Regions from separate parts of the Homo sapiens genome. Here regions 1, 2, 3, 4, 5 and 7 are each linked to region 6. Evidence: promoter capture Hi-C in 16 types of primary human blood cells and fetal thymus (Javierre and others, 2016). All regions are on one chromosome and are shown on one strand. The core of a region is centred on a gene start or on the middle of the fragment in contact, and the rest is flanking DNA. Distances in the headings are between cores, read along the strand shown. Region 1 overlaps TATDN2 (TatD DNase domain containing 2). Region 2 holds the start of BRK1 (BRICK1 subunit of SCAR/WAVE actin nucleating complex). Region 3 overlaps FANCD2 (FA complementation group D2). Region 4 has its middle 3.8 kb from the start of IRAK2. Region 5 overlaps IRAK2 (interleukin 1 receptor associated kinase 2). Region 6 holds the start of SETD5 (SET domain containing 5). Region 7 holds the start of GHRL (ghrelin and obestatin prepropeptide).

The links. The method cuts DNA at HindIII sites, captures the fragments that hold promoters and counts their contacts. A CHiCAGO score of 5 or more calls a contact.
Region 1: a contact is called between a fragment that was not itself captured here and the fragment with the promoter of SETD5 in region 6, in 8 of 17 cell types (neutrophils, fetal thymus, naive CD8 T cells and 5 more). The highest score is 8.2, in neutrophils.
Region 2: a contact is called between the fragment with the promoter of BRK1 here and the fragment with the promoter of SETD5 in region 6, in 5 of 17 cell types (fetal thymus, total B cells, activated CD4 T cells and 2 more). The highest score is 9.1, in fetal thymus.
Region 3: a fragment that was not itself captured here is called in contact with the fragment with the promoter of SETD5 in region 6 in 5 of 17 cell types (total B cells, neutrophils, naive B cells and 2 more); the score reaches 8.5 in total B cells.
Region 4: a contact is called between a fragment that was not itself captured here and the fragment with the promoter of SETD5 in region 6, in 1 of 17 cell types (naive CD8 T cells). The highest score is 5.9, in naive CD8 T cells.
Region 5: a fragment that was not itself captured here is called in contact with the fragment with the promoter of SETD5 in region 6 in 1 of 17 cell types (neutrophils); the score reaches 6.8 in neutrophils.
Region 7: a contact is called between the fragment with the promoter of GHRL here and the fragment with the promoter of SETD5 in region 6, in 2 of 17 cell types (neutrophils and total B cells). The highest score is 6.6, in neutrophils.

What each region holds. Positions count from the first base shown.
Region 1 is chr3:10,260,311-10,263,010 of GRCh38, forward strand. It overlaps TATDN2 (TatD DNase domain containing 2), which reads left to right. Exons shown (of 8, transcript NM_014760.4): 3 at 1-360. Among named protein-coding and RNA genes, the nearest start is that of TATDN2, 13 kb to the left of the region's middle. The HindIII fragment of the contact is 1,770 bases long and covers 369-2,138 here.
Region 2 is chr3:10,114,310-10,117,135 of GRCh38, forward strand. It overlaps BRK1 (BRICK1 subunit of SCAR/WAVE actin nucleating complex), which reads left to right and starts at 1,366. Exons shown (of 3, transcript NM_018462.5): 1 at 1,366-1,510. The coding sequence starts at 1,393. RefSeq lists enhancers at 1,174-1,463, 1,914-1,963. The HindIII fragment of the contact is 6,229 bases long and covers 1-2,826 here.
Region 3 is chr3:10,031,145-10,033,931 of GRCh38, forward strand. It overlaps FANCD2 (FA complementation group D2), which reads left to right. Exons shown (of 44, transcript NM_001018115.3): 3 at 1,688-1,828. Among named protein-coding and RNA genes, the nearest start is that of FANCD2, 6.1 kb to the left of the region's middle. The HindIII fragment of the contact is 752 bases long and covers 1,020-1,771 here.
Region 4 is chr3:10,159,684-10,162,492 of GRCh38, forward strand. No RefSeq gene overlaps it. Among named protein-coding and RNA genes, the nearest start is that of IRAK2, 3.8 kb to the right of the region's middle. The HindIII fragment of the contact is 1,059 bases long and covers 735-1,793 here.
Region 5 is chr3:10,202,822-10,205,521 of GRCh38, forward strand. All of the region lies in intron 3 of IRAK2 (interleukin 1 receptor associated kinase 2), which reads left to right. Among named protein-coding and RNA genes, the nearest start is that of IRAK2, 39 kb to the left of the region's middle. The HindIII fragment of the contact is 1,354 bases long and covers 624-1,977 here.
Region 6 is chr3:9,396,317-9,399,016 of GRCh38, forward strand. It overlaps SETD5 (SET domain containing 5), which reads left to right and starts at 1,299. Exons shown (of 23, transcript NM_001080517.3): 1 at 1,299-1,661. It overlaps THUMPD3-AS1 (THUMPD3 antisense RNA 1), which reads right to left and starts at 307. Exons shown (of 4, transcript NR_132781.1): 1 at 244-307. RefSeq lists a silencer at 197-1,506 and an enhancer at 2,117-2,166. The HindIII fragment of the contact is 6,018 bases long and covers 1-2,700 here.
Region 7 is chr3:10,291,606-10,294,305 of GRCh38, forward strand. It overlaps GHRL (ghrelin and obestatin prepropeptide), which reads right to left and starts at 1,342. Exons shown (of 6, transcript NM_016362.5): 1 at 1,237-1,342. GHRLOS (ghrelin opposite strand/antisense RNA) reads left to right here. Exons shown (of 6, transcript NR_073568.1): 6 at 463-1,844. RefSeq lists enhancers at 1,100-1,169, 1,180-1,429, 1,240-1,534. The HindIII fragment of the contact is 7,186 bases long and covers 1-2,700 here.

The DNA of each region.
Region 1 (2,700 bases), core at 4-2,503, 860 kb after region 6:
AAATCGATGCCAAAAAGGAAGGGAGAGGCTGCCACTCGGGCAAAACCAAGCGCAGCAGAGCATCCCAGCCATGGAGAAGGACCAGCCAGGAGTGAAGGACCAGCCAAGACTGCAGAAGGAGCAGCCAGGAGTGTCACAGTCACTGCTGCTCAGAAGGAGAAAGACGCAACCCCAGAGGTCAGCATGGAGGAGGATAAGACAGTGCCAGAGAGGAGCAGCTTCTATGACAGGAGAGTAGTTATAGACCCTCAAGAGAAACCCAGTGAGGAGCCCCTTGGGGACCGAAGGACTGTCATTGACAAATGCTCTCCACCCCTAGAGTTCTTGGATGACTCTGACTCTCATTTAGAAATCCAAAAGGTGAGTAAAGCTTGTACCAGGCATCTGACTTTTTAGTTCTGTTGATGAAATGTGTTCCATCTTTCTAGTTTGATCCTAAGTGTTACTAATTAAAAATAGTACTTTACTTAACCAGGCCTCCAGGGAACAAACTGATGGTTTTCTTCTAACATACTTTTCAGATTTTCAGAGTTATTAATAAACCTAAACTAAGTGCTTTTTTTTTTTTTTGAAGGATTTATATGTTAGGATATGGGTTTAGCTGCTGTGTAAAAGGCCAAAATCACAGTGGCTTAAACAGAATATAAGTTTGGCTTAAGAAGGATGGCTCCATCATGTCAGAGATACTGGTACCTTTTGTCTTGATTCTCTATCACCCCTCAACACAGTGTCCATCTCTTGGTGTGAAATGGATACTCTGATAGGACTCAGGGTTTGTTATCTGGGCATTCTGGCCAGTGGGAAGGGGAGAAGAGGAGAGTGCATTCCTTCCCTGTTAAGAGCTTGGCTCAAGAGTTGCACATGTTGTATCTGCTGTTGACAAGAGCGGGGAAACCCGGCTGACACCTGGCTGCAAGGGAGTCTGGAAAATCAGCCTTTATCTAGGCAGACTTGTACCTGGATAACCAGAGAAGAAGGGAAGGATGTCATTGGACGGAAACTAGTGATTTTTAACATAGCTTATAATTGAGGGGAAGCATTCCTCCATCTTTTTCTTTTTTTTTTTTTTTTTGTTGTTGGGACAGAGTCTTGCTCTGTTGCCCAGGCTGGAGTGCGATGGTGCAATCTTGGCTCACTGCAACCTCCACCTCCTGGGTTCAAGCAATTCTCCTGCCTCAGCCTCCTGAGTAGCTGGGATTACAGGTGTGCGCCACCAAACCGGCTAATTTTTGTATTTTTAGTAGATATGGGATTTCTCCATGTTGGCCAGGCTGGTCTCGAACTCCTGACCTCGTGATCCACCTGCCTTGGCCTCCCAAAGTGCCGGGATTACAGGCATGAGCCACTGTGCCAGGCCACATTCCTCCATCTTACTCGTCTCCACCCATCCTTTACTACTGCTCTGCAGGCAGCTTCTCTCATCTTTAGCTCTTTCTTCTAGTACTTACCCCATGTTTCTAAATAATCTTTACTGTTGATCAGTTTTTCAGTTTTAGATGTCTGAGGACTTCTTGCTTGGGCGATGAGAATTTAGTTCTCTATACCTCCTTCAGAAGCACCCACACCCAGGGACACATTAGCTTCCCCTTTCTGCAGCCTCCCTGTGTGGCTTGAATACCTTTTGGGTTAAGTCTGTGTAAGATTTGTTACTGCCATGTTCACAGCTGAGTCGCCTTGTATACTCTGATCACATTTTCTTTCTTGTAAAACTTCATTTTCCTTAAAGTTCATCATTACTTTGTTTTTCCTTTGGTTTTCCTGGTACCTTTCACTAATTAATCCCCAAACTGCGAGAGCTGTAAAATCCTTCTCAATACTGTCAAAATAAGGAATCTGTTTCTTTTTTTTCTCTCTTGGAGGTATACGTCCTCAGCCCTCTGTTGTCCTGCTCTGGTCTGGACTGCCTGCCGTCAGGCCAGCTGGCAGCTGTCTCTCTGGAGCCTCCTTCACATTTCTCCCGGATTGAGTCTTCTGCTACCTATACTCTGTGTCTTCTCATGTTCTTCTTCCTTGGTTTACTCTCACATTTTGGTGGAATACTTTTTCTAGTAGCTTCTTGAGAAAGGGTACATGGAGAAACTTTTTTTGGTAAACATGTGTCTGAGATTGCCTTTATTTTACCTTTAACCTTGATTACAAGCTTGGTTGGTTTTGGAATTCCAGGTTGGAAATTGTTTTGTTTGGGATTTTGAAGGCATTGCTCCTTTTCTTCTGGGCTTTTTTTTTTTTTTTTTTTTTTTTGAGGTGGAGTCTCGTTCTGTCTTGCCCAGGCTGGAGTGCACTGGTGTGATCTTGGCTCACTGCAGCCTCCACTTCCTGGGTTCAAGTGATTCTCCTGTCTCAGCCTCCCGAGTAGCTGGGATTACAGGCACACGCCACCACACCTGGCTAATTTTGTATTTTTGGTAGAGACAGAGTTTCATCATGTTGGCCAGGCTGGTCTCAAACTTCTGACCTGAGGTGATCCACCTGCCTAGGCTTCCCAAAGTACTGAGATTACAGGTGTAAGCCACTTCGCCTGGCCTCTTCTGGTTTTCTTGATGTCTGAAGCTATGCTGGTTCCTGAACCTTGGTATATGATTTTTTATTTTTTATTTTCTTTTGCTTTGAGACAGAGTTTTGCTCTGTCACCCAGGTTGGAGTCCAGTGGCGTGATCTCAGCTCACTGCAATCTTCACCTCCCAGGTTCAAGCGATTCTC
Region 2 (2,826 bases), core at 116-2,615, 720 kb after region 6:
ACCAGCCTGACCAACATGCTGAAACCCCGTCTCTACTAAAAAATACAAAAAATAGCCAGGTGTGGTAGCGGGCACCTGTAATCCCAGCTACTTGGGAGGCTGAGGCAGGAGAATCACTTGAACCCGGGAGGCAGAGGTCACAGTGAGCCAAGATCGTGCCATTGCACTCCAGTCTGGGCATTAACAGAGAAACTCTGTCTTAAAAAAAAAAAGTAAGAAAAGGAAGGAAGGAAGGGAGGGAGGGAGGGTATTTTGTTTTTCCCCTCAATTTATTGTATGTGTTTTCATGTTGCTTGTGTTCATAATTAGCATTTAAATGACTGCATAATAGGCCGGGCATGGTGGCTCATGCGTATAATCCCAGCACTTTGGGAGGCCGAGGTGGGTAGATCACCTGTCAGTTCGAGACCAGCCTGGCCAACATGGTGAAACCCCGTGTCTACAAAAAATACACAAATTAGCCAGGCGTGGTGACGTGAGCCTGTAGTCCCAACTACACCAGAGGCTGAGGCTGGAGGATAGCTTGAGCCCAGGAGTTCAAGCCCAGGAGTTCGAGGCTGCAGTGAGCCATGATCATGCCATTGCATTCCAGCCTGGGCGACAGTAAGACCTTGTCTCAGGCTGGGCGAGGTGGCTCACACCTGTAATCCCAGCACTTTGGGAGGCCGAGGCGGGCGGATTGCCTGAAGTCAGGAGTTCGAGACCAGTCTGGCCAACATGGTGAAACACCATCTCAACTAAAAATACAAAAAAATTAGCCGGGCGTGGTGGTGTGCGCCTGTAATTCCAGCTACTCGGGAGGTTGAGGCAGGAGAATAGCTTGAACCTGGGAGGCGGAGGTTGCAGTGAGCCGAGATCACACCACTGCACTCCAGCCTGGGCGACAGAGCAAGACTCCGTCTCAAAAAAACAAAAAACAAGAAAAAACCTTGTCTCAAAAAACAACACAAAAACACAAATTTCCTTCTGAAAGGGACTGTTCCAGTTTGCAGTGTGCCCAGCTATTTATGACCATATTATTTTTTAGACTCCGTCTAAAAAAAAAAAAGACTTGTATTTAATGTGATTTAATCGACTGTGCCCATCTCACTGCGGACACTGAGTGCGCAACCTGAGCCTGGAGCAGTTGAGGGAGACGGCAAGACCCCACGCGCCGTGTAACGACCATAACGCGCGTGCACTACAACCTCGCCGCCGGCGTCCAGGCTTCTGTGTTCTATAGCGTGGGAGTAGAGAGCAAACGCCGGCGAGGACGTGACGTTGCACAGGCCTATCATAGTGCCCGAGAATTCGTGGGTGCTCAAGAGGATGGGTGTGGCCTGGCAGCGCAGGCGCACTAGAGGCCTGTAGGGTCGGGGCGCCTGCGCAGTCGCTCTTCCTCAGGCGGCGGCCATGGCGGGACAGGAGGATCCGGTGCAGCGGGAGATTCACCAGGACTGGGCTAACCGGGAGTACATTGAGATAATCACCAGCAGCATCAAGAAAATCGCAGACTTTCTCAACTCGTTCGGTCAGCGGGCCAGCAAGGGGAGGCGGGGAGGAGGGAGGCCGCTGAGGTGGTTGGGCTGGGGCGCCGGGGAGATGCTTTGAGAGGACTCCCGCAGCCTTCGGCTGTTGCGGGTTTTCACTTCCTCCTTCAGGTCCCACCTTCTCCCTCCCGCCCTGACCCTCAGGCTCCCGTAGACAGTCTCTGTAGGGTTATCCTGCCCTACGCTGAGCTCATGGCTTCCTGCCATCCCTCTGGATCCATTCTACAAGTCCTTCTCCTAGACGCGTCAGGCAGCCCCATCCTCGCTCCGTGGTTCTTCTCCTAAGTGGTCTCCCTGCCTCCTTTGTACTCTGCATCCATTCCGGTCCCCACTTTGCACTCAAAGTGAGCATCCGGGACCGTGTCACTCCTCTGTTTCAAGACTGTTGACCGTTCCCCATCTTCAGGATCTGGTCGATACCCTCTAGCGTCGTGCCTTTTAGTTGGACCCGTTGTCAACCACTCCCGTCTTGTCCATTCCTTCCTGTTTCCTGTGTCTGCTGCGGTGAGAGTGGTGGGAGATGAGGTCAGAGGGATGCCAGGATCTTGTAGGACCTTGGAAGTCCTCTCTGTATTGCTAGTATATATAGCTTATGGTAGGTGTTCTGTCTGCTTCTAGCCCATTCCTCAGAGCTAACACAGGTCGGGTGCCTTCAGCAGAAAGATATCTTTACCAGAATCTTTCCTAGGCATGGCCTGCTTGTGACAGCCTTAAATTCTTCCTTATGAACAGCAAGCAAAGCAATCGAGATTCCTACCCCTTCTTCTCCAAGTGTTTAACAGAACTTGGCACTGGTTAGACTTTCTTGTGTAATTACAGGATATAGGGACTAGTGTACTTTGGAAAGATTTTTAAATGAATGATTCTCTAACTAAAGGACTGATGGCCTTAGGAGTACAAAGGTGACAGAGCAAGAGATTGTCAGAAAGCATCAGCGAGAGATGCTAGAGCTCCATATGAGGCCCTCTCTTAAGGCATAGTGGGAGACACAGAATAAGAACCACTTCCTACATTCAAAGAAGTTCTAATCTTGAAGATGAAATAATGACAACTTCAGGACAAAGAAGAGCATCATTTTTGTATTAAAGTATTTTCATACAGGGTGTTTAGGACTATAATCGTGGCTGAGTTCAATGGCTTATGTCTGTAATCCCAGCACTTTGGGAGGCCAAGGTGGGAGGATTGCTTGAGCCCAGGAGTTCAAGACCAGCCTGAGCAACATGACCAGATCCTATCTCTACAAAACAACGACAACAAAAAAATTAGTTGGGCATGGTCATGCACACCTGTTGTCCCA
Region 3 (2,787 bases), core at 146-2,645, 630 kb after region 6:
GTGTTTTACATTTCATTCAGGAAGGTAGTGGTCTTTGTCTCATTCTGATTAAGGCTTTATTAGAAAGAGGGAAAGGAGGCCAGGCACGGTGGCTCACGCCTGTAATCCCAGCACTTTGGGTGGCCAAGGCGGGCAGATCACGAGGTCAGGAGATTGAGACCATCTTGGCTAACATGGTGAAACCCCGTCTCTACTAAAAATACAAAAAATTAGCCGGGCGTGGTGGTGTGCACCTGTAGTCCCAGCTACTGGGAGGCTGAGGCAGGAGAATGGCATGAACCCGGGAGGCGGAGCTTGCAGTGAGCCAAGATCGCGCCACTGCACTCCAGCCTGGGCGACAGAGCAAGACTCCATTTCAAAAAAAAAAAAAAAAGAAAGAGGGAGAGGAATTGAAGAAGGAAAAAACAAAATGGCATCATTAAGGGAGAAGAGTAAATTTTAAACTTGGCTTCAAGTACCTGTTTGTTTCTTGTTTCTTATTTCTTTTTATGGGTTGAAAGTCTTGGGATTAAACCTATCTGAGCATTGTAGTCAAAGATATGATACAAAGAACCTTCCCCATTCTGTCTACCCTTTATTCAGATCATTGAGTCTCAAATTTGGTGTGTATCAGGATTATTATCTGAAGAACATAAAAAATTCGGATTCCTAGGTCCCATTCCCAAGATTTTGACTCAGTAACTCTGGTATATGGCATGGAATATGCCTTTTTTTTCCTTTGAGACAGAGTGTCACTCTGTTGCTCAGGCAGGAGTGAAGTGGCGCGATCTGGGCTCACTGCAACCTCTGCCTCCCGGGTTCAAGTGATTCTCCTCCTCAGCCTCCCGAGTAGTTGGTATTACAGGCGCACGCCACCACACCCAGTTAATTTTGTATTTTTAGTAGAGATGGGGTTTCACCACGTTAGCCAGGCTGGTCTTGAACTCCTGACCTCAGGTAATCAGCCTGCCTCGGCCTCCCAAAGTGCTGGGATTACAGGCGTGAGCCACTGTGCTGGGTCGGAAATATGCATTTTAATAAGCTTCCCAGGGATTCCAGTACAGTGGTTTGCAGGCAACAGCTTGAGAGACACTGGCTAGTTTAGTATTTGGGTGGAAAACATTTCTGTGGGTTATTCTTGTTAGGCACTTATTTGTTTGAATTTATTTTTTTAGAGATGGGGATTTCACTCTGTCACCCAGGCTGGAGTGCAGTGGTAATATCATAGCTCACTATAGCCTCAACCTCCTGGGCTCAAGTTATTCTTCCGCCTTAGCCTCCGAAGTAGCTGGGACTACAGGTGTGCGTCTCCTCACCTAACTAGTTTGTGTGTGGAGGGGGGGAATGGGGGTGAAGGGGGGGAGATGGGGGGGTGGTCTCACTTTGTTGCCCAGGCTGGTCTTGAACTCCTGGCTTCAAGTGATCCTCCTGCCTTGGCCTCCTAATTTGCTGGGATTACCACATGAGCCACCTTGCCTGGCCAGAAATGGCACATTTTGAATTCTTCAAATGAAAATAGGTGAAAATAATTCTATTTGTTTGTTTTGGAAGCCACTATTGCTGAAGACAGTTTATTTCACTACAGCATCAATCCTAGTATAATTTTTAAGGACACATCAGTTTTCCTCTCATGATTATTATTCCTGGGTTTAAGTTTTAATTTTTCCTTTACTATTTGCCATATTCTTGAAAATTTTTCTATTTTCAGAAACCAGGAAGCAACCACTTTCCAAAAAGACAAAGAAATCTCATATTGCTAATGAAGTTGAAGAAAATGACAGCATCTTTGTAAAGCTTCTTAAGATATCAGGAATTATTCTTAAAACGGGAGAGAGTCAGAATCAACTAGGTAATATTTTAATCTAATTTTATTCTCTGGGTTTAATGAAATAGTTCAGGACTGAATCATGGGTTTTCTAAATAGAGAGGCAATGAAGATTAGAAATCAGAGGGCCATCCATCTTGAGACAAAGTTGAAATTGCTTTTTAGAAAATGGTACAGTCAGGCCGGGCGCGGTGGCTCACGTTTATCATCCCAGCACTTTGGGAGGCTCGAGGCAGGCGGATTGCCTGAGCTCAGGAATTTGCGACCGGCCTGGGCAACACGTCTCTACTAAAATATAAAAAATTAGCCGGGCATGGTGGCATGTGCCTGTAGTCCCAGCTGCTTGGGCGCCTGAGTCAGGAGAATTGCTTGAACCCGGGAGGTGAAAGTTGCAGTGAGTCAAGATCGCACCACTGCACTCCAGCCTGGGCGACAAGAGTGAGACTCCATTTCCAAAAAACAAAAATGGAAAAAGAAAATGGTACAGTCTTTGGTCCTCATTACTATGTCTTAAGTAAAGCATTTCTCATCCTTTTATTAGAAAAAATATTATATATTATTTATTTTGTGTTTTCTTATGAAAAAATAAATATCCAGAAAGCAGCTGTATCAGTGTCAGAATAATTTCAGAAGAAAATTTATAAAGCCATATAAGATTCTGTTTTGGGGGAGCAGATTATTCTATCTTGCTAAGGTTATGGCAGGTCTTTTTTAGAACACTTAGTGGCTATCTGCTATCAAAGCTAAGTCTTTTTTTTTTTTTTTTTTTTGAGACGGAGTCTTGCTCTGTCGCCCAGGCTGGAGTGCAGTGGCGCGATCTCTGCTCACTGCAAGCTCCACCTCCCAGGTTCACACCATTCTGCCTCAGCTTCCCAAGTAGCTGGGACTACAGGCGCCCGCCACCATGCCTGACTAATTTTTTGTATTTTTAGTAGAGACGGAGTTTCACCGTGTTAGCCAGGATGGTCTTGATCTCCTGACCT
Region 4 (2,809 bases), core at 14-2,513, 760 kb after region 6:
GCTCATGCCTGTAATCCCAGCACTTTGGGAGGCCGAGGTGGGTGGATCACCTGAGGTCAGGAGTTTGAGACCAGCCTGACCAACATGGAGAAACCTCGTATCTACTCAAAATACAAAATTAGCTGGGTGTGGTGGCACATGCCTGTAACCCCAGCTACTCAGGAGGCTGAGGCAGGAGAATTGCTTGAACCCAGGAGGCAGGGGTTGCGGTTAGCCAAGATCACACCAGTGCACTCCAGCCTGGGCAACAAGAGCAAAACTCCGTCTCAAAAAGAGAGAAAAAAAAAGAAAAATATATGCAAAGTGCATAGAGAAGCTTTATTATTCTCCTTTCATCAGTCTTCCCTCCTGCTCCAGCTTTTTTTTTTTTTTTTTTTTTTTTTTTGATATGGAGTCTCACTGTGTCCCCCAGTCTGGAGTGCAGTGGTATGATCTTGGCTCAGTGCAGTCTCCACCTCCCGGGTTCAAATGATTCTCCTGCCTCAGCCTCCCAAGTAGCTGGGATTACAGGTGCGTGCCATCACGCCCAGCGAATTTTTTTGTATTTTTAGTAGAAACGGGGTTCCGCCGTGTTGGTTGGGCTGGTCTCGAACTCCTGACCTCAAGTGATCCACCCACCTCGGTCTCCCAAAGTGCTGGGATTGCAGGCATGAGCCACCATGCTTGGCCTCTGCCCCAGCTTTCTGATATGACTGGTTCTCAACTGTGCCAGCACATATTAGAATTATCTGGGAAGCTTTAAAAAACAGTAGTGCCTGAGCCCCACTCCAGAATAATTGAATCTGTCTCCCTGGAGGTAGGGCTAGGCATTTATACTTTTTAAAAGCACCCCAGATGTTTCTACTGTGCAGCCAGGGTTGCAAACCACTGACTATAATTTCAAGGGAATTAAACTTGAACAGCTCAAAATGACGTAAGTGTGTAATTAATTACATTCAGCCTCAATAACTGTTTCTAACTGATCCTGGTGGGTGTTGGTCATGGAAAATAGCCAGAGGAAGAAATTAACTGCAAGATCAGAGGAAATTTCTTGTGGTGAGGCAGTATAACACAGCAGAAAGAGCATTTGCTTTGGGTCAGACTTGAGTTGCATCCTGTTGATGCGGGACAGGCAAGCCCCCAAATTGGGGTTTAGCCTGGGAGGGTTCTTAGCTTCACCCAGAAAGGAATTCCAGGGCCAGCCAGTGGTGTTAAATAGCACCTTTTATTGAAATAGCAGTGTGCAGCCGCAGCAGAGGTACTGCTCCTTGCAGGGTAGGGCTACTCCATAGGCAGTGTGCCCAGAGTAGTGGCTCAGAGGCAGTTCTACAGTCACATTTATACACACTTTTAATTATATGCAAATTAAGGGGCAGTTTATGCAGAACATTCTAGAAAGGGGCGGTGACTTCTTGGAGTCGCCATGGCAATGGTAAACTGACAAGGTACACTGGTGGCAGTGTCTTATGCGAGGTACTTCCCACCACACCTGTTTTAGCTAGTCCTCAATTTGGTCCGATGTCCCAGCCATTCCTTTCGAGTCGAGTGCTGCCCCCTACCTCACTGTCACTTGGCCAACTTGGCCCAGTTACAATTGACTTCAGCCTCAGTTTCTTCATCTGTAAAACAGAAACAATAAACCTTTGCAGGGTTGTATGGATTACAGATAATGTATGCTAAATGCCTGCTAGGTGAGTTGGTAGGTGAAGGGCAACCATTAGTAATAGCAAAGACCTTACTTTGAAGAACTTATTCTAAAGAGTGGTAACTGAGATGTGTCCCTGTGATGACCTGCTCAGGCCCAAAATGACTCAAGCTTCTCTGGAAGACAGAATCCTAGGACACAGATCCCAAGCCCTGAGGCTGGGGTGAGAAGGAATTGCGGGAAGGGCCTGAGGATGCAGCAGAGAGAGCAGTGGGGGCTCCTCTGCCTTCCAGGATTGACCAAGGCTGAATGTGAAACTTCCGTGGTCTTAAAGCCTCACCCCAGGGAAGAGGCCCTGTGGCACTGAGGGAGGAGCTCTACACACACGCTGCTTGCGGAAGAGAAGGAGAAGCAGGTAGGGGACTCTGCAAAAAGAGAAAAGGAGAAAAAGAAGAGGATCTTTATTCTCTTTTACCCCCGTGTGCCTGGGATGGAGATGCTTCTCCACCCAGCCTATGGCAAACAATCATTACAGTTCCCAAGTCCACCTTCAGCCACTGCTGAAAACACAGGACTTCACTTGAAAAGTAGTCTCAGAACACTGAAATATGTCCCACTTTCAACATCAAGGAGGACATAATAGTAATCCTTTACTGGGCTCAGCACTTCACAGTTGATCTTGAGCGTTTTGGAGTCCATTTAGGCTTCATAACAATCCTTCCAAGTGGCTGCAGCAGGAGATCCAGTTTCCAAAAGGGAAAACAGAACTGGCTCAAAGGACTAAGAGCCGGAGAGTGGCTGAACCAGGTCTCCAAACTTGATAGGACTCCAAGGCCAGTGGGTGCCTTTTCAAGACCACTAATGACAGCTACCATTTTTTGGGCACATTCTCTGTGCGAGGAAAGCCCTGTAGTAGGTGTTCTATATAGGCTACATAATTTGATTTATTCCACTCCCCTCACAACTCTAAGCAGTAGGAAGGAGCAGGCCCACTTTACAGATGCTGGAAACAAGGCTTGACGAATGAAATGAGTTGTCCAGAGTCACAAAGCCTGTTGGTGGCAGAACTGCAACTTGGCCCTAGGACTTCTCACTTTGATTTCAGCTTCCTCCTTTTGCAGCGCTACTCCATAGCTGACGGCCACAGCTATACAGTGGTACCTACTCTAGTTACTTATCTGCCCT
Region 5 (2,700 bases), core at 51-2,550, 810 kb after region 6:
GCTGGGACTACAGGTGTACATCACTACGGCCGGCTAATTTTTTATTTTTGTAAAGATGGGATCTCATTATGTTGCCCAGGCTGGTCTCGAACTCCTGGGATCAAGCGATTCTCCCACCTTGGCCTCCCAAAGTGTTGGGATTACAGGCATGAGCCACTGCACAGAGCCCTATTTACTTACTTTCTTTTTTTGGCAGTGGGATGGAATCTCTGTCACCCAGGCTAGAGTGCAGTGGCACAATCTCGGCTCATTGCAACCTTTGCCTCCCGGGTTCAAGCGATCCTGCTGCCTCAGCCTCCTGAGTAGCTGGGACTATAGGCACGCACCACCACGTCTGACTGATTTTTGTATTTTTTGTAAAGATGGGGTTTCGCTGTGTTGCACAGGCTGGTCTTGAACTCCTGGGCTCAAGCAATCCACCTGCCTTGGCCTCCCAAAGTGCTGGGATTACAGGCGTGAGCCACTGCACCCAGCCCCTATTTGCTTTCTTGATGGCACTTGGAGCAAATGTGCCCAGGCAGGTCAAGATGATAACTACAATTTGCAGGCAGAGACAGGAAGTTGATTGTCTATCTTTGCCTAAATTGAAAATAAGAAATCATTCATTTCATCAAACCACCCAAAGCTTGTCTTCTTTCGGGAAAACCCCAAGGTTCCACTGAGCCCCAGAGTTCAAACTCATCAATTATCTTAAAGGATTTTGGTAGGAGTGAAGTATACTGAGCCCACATCTTGATCCCTGTGATACCCTGGCTCCCCCTTGCAGTAGGTGGGAAGGAAGTGGGAAGAGACATGGAGGAGGAAAATATGTTTGTTTGTTTTGTTTTTTGAGACAGAGTCTCGCTCTATCACTAGGCTGGAGTGCAGTGGCGCGATCTCGGCTCACTGCAGCCTCTGCCTCCTGGGTTCAAGTGATCCTCCTGCCTCAGCCTCCCGAGTAGCTGGCACTACAGGTGCGCGCCACCACGCCCAGCTAATTTTTTGTATTTTTAGTAGAGACGGGGTTTCACCATGTTGACCAGGATGGTCTTGATCTCTTGACCACCTGCCTCGGCCTCTCAAAGTGCTGGGATTACAGGCATGAGCCACCGCGCCTGGCTGAGGAGGAAAATATGTGAGCAGAGGAGCCATGGATAGGCTATGAGCACCTCGGCAAAGCAGTCTCGAAGCTAGAATTCAGATGAAAGGGTTTTGAGCAGCTGAAATAACTGTTACAAAGCCTTAGCTGTAGGAGAGGCCACTGGGCTATCAGTCAGAATCTGTTTACTTACTCTACACATAGTTTCACCAGCCTTGGTAAAATACCAAGTACTGCATGTGTCACAGCCTGACCTTTGTGCTCTATAAACATCAGCTCTTTTTACCTGGACAAGAAACAGACCATTATTGCTCTTTTTACATTTGAGAAAGCTCAGATAAGTGAGGCACAGCTCATCTGAGGTCAGATCTTGAGTAGTGCTGGAGCCAGCGCTTGAGCCAAATTCTGTTTGATACTAATAAAGGAGATGGGGCAGCTGGGGGTAGACCCGCTGCCAGCATCAGGGCAGGACATAGAAGACCCCATGTCAGATACAGTGCCGCTGCTTCTGCAATTCTTGTACCTGCAATGACACAGCTCGGCAGGACCAGAGGTGGTGCATTTTGCTTGAGAAAGCAGGCATATTAGCCTCAGTAGAATAGCAACAAAAAGGCCAAGGCAGTCGGATCACCTCAGGTCAGGAGTTCGAGACCAGCCTGGTCAACATGGTGAAACCTCATCTCTACTAAAAATATAAAAATTAGCTAGGCATGGTCTCAGGCGCCTGTAATCCCAGCTACTTGGGAGGCTGAGGCAGGAGAATTGCTTGAACCTGGGAGGCGGAGGTTGCAGTGAGCCGAGATCACGCCACTGCACTCCAGCTTGGGTGACAGAGAAAGACTCTGTTTCAAAAACAAAAACAAACAAAACAGAGCAAAAAAGAAAAGCAAGAAAAAGAAAGCTTCTGGAAGCATTTCCATAGGAAATGGTTTGTTTTTTAGCTAAGTCCTGGCACTTGATCTGACCTCTGATTAGCTGTGCCTCACTCTTGGAAACAAGATTATGTAGAAGCCCCAAGCCCCATCTATCACTATCACCCAACAAGTATCCCATCTTGTTCATCTACTCTCCTGCCCCATCTCCCTCCCCTCCCTTAGCCATTATTTTAAAACATTTTTATATGAAAAAATTACAAACATACAAAAGCCAAGAGCATAATGACCCTCCATGTCCCCATCAGCTGGCTTCAGTAATGATCCACCCATGGCCAACTTCTGATTAGTTTGTATGGAATCCAGGGAGATTTTCATATCCTTGATAGCTGGAGAATTCCTTCTCATTCTCCTCTCTCTGCCCTTGGACATACAGTGGGGGCCTTTAAAGATTATGGTTGTGAGTTTCTCCTACCACAGATAACTACCCTAGGCACGAGGAGCCAATCCGATTAGACCCCAGAGGAGGGGAGGGCTGGGTAGGGAGAGATGGAGAGTAATGGCTGGTGGGTCCTGTCTGATTTTCCAGACCAGAGTCCATTTCTTTTCCCCAAGACCACAGGGATAAATAAACCCAACTAATAGCCCTCATGTGTCGCAGGAGCAGGCCTCAGGGATTCCCCCAAACTGAGAGGCCTGGGGGAGCCTCCTGAGCAAACCCCAGGCATTAAGTCAGATAGGAAACTCATG
Region 6 (2,700 bases), core at 49-2,548:
GGAAAGGAGGGAGGGCTTCTTCCAGGCCCAGGGCGGTCCTTACAAGACGGGAGGCAGCAGAGAACTCCCATAAAGGTATTGCGGCACTCCCCTCCCCCTGCCCAGAAGGGTGCGGCCTTCTCTCCACCTCCTCCACCGCAGCTCCCTCAGGATTGCAGCTCGCGCCGGTTTTTGGAGAACAAGCGCCTCCCACCCACAAACCAGCCGGACCGACCCCCGCTCCTCCCCCACCCCCACGAGTGCCTGTAGCAGGTCGGGCTTGTCTCGCCCTTCAGGCGGTGGGAACCCGGGGCGGAGCCGCGGCCGCCGCCATCCAGAAGTCTCGGCCGGCAGCCCGCCCCCGCCTCCAGCGCGCGCTTCCTGCCACGTTGCGCAGGGGCGCGGGGCCAGACACTGCGGCGCTCGGCCTCGGGGAGGACCGTACCAACGCCCGCCTCCCCGCCACCCCCGCGCCCCGCGCAGTGGTTTCGCTCATGTGAGACTCGAGCCAGTAGCAAGGGCCCGGTCCCACAGCTTCGACAGCCAATCAGGTGTCGAAGACAAGCAGGCGGCGGGTAAACCGACTCCCCCGAAGGAAGGGGAGGGTGGGAGGACGCCCGCGCCAGAGCCGATTTCACTGACCCTCCCCTCCCGCCGCAGGAGGCCGGCCGCGCCCGCACACCCAGCATCTCTACACCCCACCTACCTACCCGCCCCACCCAGGGGGCAACGCGAGAGTCGCTAAGCGGCTGCGTACTCCCGACGGCGTAACTGACAGGAGCTTTACTCCAACCAGAATACGCCATTTGTGTTTTCACACACGGCGGGAGGAGAAACGGCCAATCGGCGACAAGAGGCTAGCCGGAAGCGCTCCTCCCTCTGCGAGAGCAATGGCTCCGTCCGGTTTCGAGCATTTTCCGCTCCCTTCTCCCTCCCCCTCCGGTTGCCGCAGGGCGGGCCTCCCTCCCGCCTGCATCCAGCCACCCCTTTCCCTCCCAACGTAACAAACATTATGTTCCCGACTTCCCACGGGAAAGGCAACCCCCGCAAGCCACCAGACGGCCCCCCTAGCCACCCATCCCCCCAGTGTACCGCACCTCCCCTCCCACCAGAGTTCCGCTCCCCTACCTAGCCGAGGCTCTCTGAGGAGCCGGAGCGCCGAAGCACAGCCTCTTCTCTAGGCGGCCCCGGCGGCTTCCGCTGATTGGCGGCGAGTGGGCCAATGGGTGCGGGGCGGTGGGCGGAGAGGCCAATGGCGCGGCGGGAGGGGGCGTGTCCCGGGTGCCCCTGGCGCCGGCGCTGGGAATCCCCGTGCGGTCAGTGGCGTTTCCGCTCGGGCAGCGGGCTGAGTGAGCTGCCGCCGCCGCCGCCGCCGCCGCCGCCGCCGCCGCTGCCGGGGGAGGGGCGGCCGCCGCCCGCCTGCGCTCAGAGACTCACGCAGCCCCAGTCCCGCCAGTCCGCCAACACAGTAGTGCCGGCCCCCCTCTTTCCCTGGCCCTGCCCCCCCTCCCCGCCTTTGGCTCGCTCCGCCTTTCTGCCCCCCACCCCCACCTCACGGGTACGGGCCATTCCCGGCCAGGAAACGCCGTGGCGCCGCGTTGGGCCTAACTCGAGTCCTGCCGCCTCCCGGGAGTGCCGTGCGCCGCAGCCCGGGCCCAGGCCCCGGCAGCGCCTGGGACAAGGTAAGGGTCCGACAGAAAAGAGACCGAACCTCACGATCGGGCCCCAGGGGAGGGAAGGGTCACCTCCTCCGTCTCCCCGCGCTCGCTCTCCTTGGGTCGTGGGCCTGGCCCTCCCCAAGCTCTTAGGAGGATGCTGCCACTTCTCACCCCCCTCGCCGCCTTGCACACACCGTTGCAACACCCCATTTTCCCAGGGAGAGAGATCCCCCTCTAATCTAGGCGACCCAACTCCCCCTTTCATGTTTTTCCTGGGTCAGGACGCTTCCCCTCCCCCAACGCCTCTTCACCCCCTTTCCTGGGAACTGCCTACTCCACGTTTACCTTTCCCTTGAGGAGAGGCCTCTTGCTGCCCTCCGCTCGAAATACACAGGCATACTTTTTTTCTCTCCCCGATCCCCCACTCCCTACCCCCGTTCTCGCGGCCTTGTGACAGACAACTCTGATCGCTCTGGGGGCCGCGATCTCCCCTCCGTAATCTTCCTGGACGCCTTCCCTCTCGTTTTCTGGCTTCCCACCTCAGATGGCTGCTTCCCAAAGGCATTACCTTCGCCACCCCCACCACACGTTCTCTGGCTCCCCGTGGCGTGTGCCACAGCGTGTCTGAGATAGCCTCGTTGAATGTGTAGGGTTCGAGCCTGGAGTTGAGCCAGATTGTGTCGTTTTACTTGCCTTGGGCGTGGAGAACGATCTTGTGAGAATATCTTCAAAGGCAGAAAAATATTCCCTTTATGAATTCTCTTTCCCTCTGCGTGTAAGTCGGGAATGTGAAGAGGAGTGTAGGAAAGAGCCCTGGTTCAAGTAGGTAAATCGCATGAGAGGGAAAGTTAAACTGTTGGGAAAGCCCCTTCTATGCTAATTGATTCTATAGAGTCCTTGCTTGTCTCACTTCTTGGGCGTCAGTGGTCTTTCTCTTGGATATGGATGCTGCAGTCAGCTCTGCTGGTCTGGGTCAGGGGTGCGTGTATGACCTGCATTTTCTGCTTTCTCATGTTACTTGTGCAATGTATTCACCGGTAACTCATTTCTTTCCCAGACCTCT
Region 7 (2,700 bases), core at 92-2,591, 900 kb after region 6:
GATGACAATGGTTTCATACCAGGCCCATAGGACTTCCCAGCATAGGCCAAGGCCACTGCCTCATTTCCCTCGGCCCCAGGAATTTCTTCCTTTCTGGAGTGCTTCATCCAACTGGGTGCCCAGGCAGGAACCCCTAAGGGCCAATGAGTTGTCTGCAGAGAAGTTCTAGCAGTTCAGGAGAGGAGCTCACCTTAGGCTGGGGCTTGCGGCAGGGATGTTAGCAAAGGCTCCAGGAAAGAGGCCTGTGGTGAACTCGGGGCAGGGCTTTGGAGGGAGGGCTTTGCGGCAAGCAGAGGGGAGGTGAAGGCGTGGGTAGAGTACATCAGGGCAGCATGGAGAAGGCTGGGTGGCTTGGGGGAGGGTGGCGATGGGGTCATAACAAAAACATAAGAAGGTGGTTTGGGGCCAGGTGATGGATGCCTTGGGAACTGCTAGCCCAAGAAGTTTGGGCTTTTTTTGCAGGAGGGCAGCCACTGAGGATTCTTGAGGAGAGAGAGACCATAGAATGAATGAAAGAGTTGGAAAGACTTTAAAGCTCTGGGAGGCTGAATCCTTTATTTCGCTGGAAGAAAAACTGAATGCCAAGAGGGCCTCACTTTCCCCAAAGCTATACAGCCATCAGGGGCAATGCTGGGATTCCCCCATGGATCTCTTGACTCCTAATACAGTGCTCTTTCTGATATGCCATCTGGCTCCATAATGAACATTGTGTTCCAGGAAAATCAGTCTGCGCTGAACAGGATGGAATTGGGGCAGGACGTCCAGTGAGGAGGACATTGAGGCAGTAGAGCAGTTGATTGCCGAATGACCACCTACCCTGACTTAAAAGATCAACCTCAGGGAGGATTGGAGCTTTCTAGAGTCTCTTGGGACAGCAGAAGCACAGGCCGGGTTGGACTGAATCTTTAAGTGGACATGAGGGACAAAGTACCTCCTGTTGGTAAACATCTCACCACCAACCCACTGTGGTGGCTAAAATCCCACCTTTAGTCCCAGCAACATATGAGCATGTCACCAGGAGGTCTTCACAGGCCTGTCTGCCACCTGAGTGTAGACATCTTTTGGCCCTGGAGCCCAGAGAGGCTGAATGTGGAGAGGGTGGAGAGAGGTCTGTAGTCCTCAGAGAAGACTTGCAGCTTTTTCAGAGCCACCAACCCATAAAAAAAAAAATCCCCAAACAGAAAAATCCTAACTGTGGTGACCAGGTACCTCCTGAGACATGAAGCCTCCACTTACCTGGACCCTGGAGGCCTCTCCGGGCACAGCTGCCAATGTTGATCTTAGATAAGACCACCAGCAAGTAAACATCCACTGTGCAAAGCTGTGTTATCTTTGGGGAACTGAAATGTCCCCTGGGAGTTGGAAACTCCCCTAGCCACATACCACAGAGTTGAGGAAGGAAGAGCTGATGGACGGAAGAACCATGGCGGGAGGAGTCATCCGGAAGCTACCTCGCTGCCCTGTCAGTTACGGAACAGAGGAGAGATGCCGGCTGGAGGACACAGCAAATTTGAACCAAGAGGAGCTTGGAGGAAGCCCGAGCGACCTGGAGGGGACTGGCTGACCTTCCTCATTCTTTTCAAGTGTGAATAATAACCAAGCCCAGTTTGGCAACTCCTTGAGGGTGAGGACGAAGCCCCATTCTCCTTTTTGGAACTTGGTGGGGCTCAGGAAGCAGGTTCTCTCCAGTCGGTGGCTTTCCTTTCTGTTGCGGGTCTCTTGAGGGCCTGCCTTCATGAAGGCACATGAGTGACTCATCATTTGTGAATTAATTGCTATATGTGAAGGGCATCTGAGAACAAATTATCTTCATAGACTTTTCATTATAATTTTATTTGTACTGATAATTAGTTGGTTTAGCAAGCTCTTTTTTCATAGATTTGGCTAAACTTCAGTCTGAAAGAGGCAAATTCTGGGGTTCTAGAAAGAGATTTTATTCTTTGATATAGGGCTATTTGGTGGGGTTGCTTTTTGTCCTAGTTGTAGCTTTTATAATTTCGAGATTCACATTTTGCAATAGAAATATACAGGCATACCTTGGAGGCATTACAGCTTTGGTCCCAGACCACAATGAAGCAAGTCACACGAATTTTGTTGGTTTCCCAGTAAATATAAAACGTATGCTGATACCATACTATAGTCTAAGTGTGCAACAGCATATGTCTAAATGAATATACATATATATTTTTTTGAGACAGGTTCTTGCTCTGTCACCCAGGCTGGAGTGCAGTGGCACTATCATGGCTCACTGCAGCCTCCACCTCCCTGGACTAAGATGATCCTCCCACCTCAGGCTCCCAAGTAGCTGGGACTACAGGTCACACCACCACACCCAGTTAATTTTTGTATTTTTTGTAGAGACAGAGTCTTGACATGTTGCCTAGGCTGGTCTTGAACTCCTGGCTTAAGTGATCTGCCTGACTTTGCCTCCCAAAGTGCTGGGATTACAGATGTGTAGTCTTTGAAATCCAGTGTGTGTTCTTACAGTGCATTTCAATTTGGACTAGCCATGTTTCAAATGCTCAGCAGCCACATGCGGCTCATTCTAGATAGGCGGCCATCGCTCTTAAATCCTCCCTGACCTTAGCCATGCTCTCTCATCCCTCCTCTTCGCCAAGCTCTGCCTCTCTCACTGGGGCTTCCCTAGCCTCCGGCCATCTTGGGGCCAAAGCTCTAACACTTTGCCTCTCTCGTGTCTTC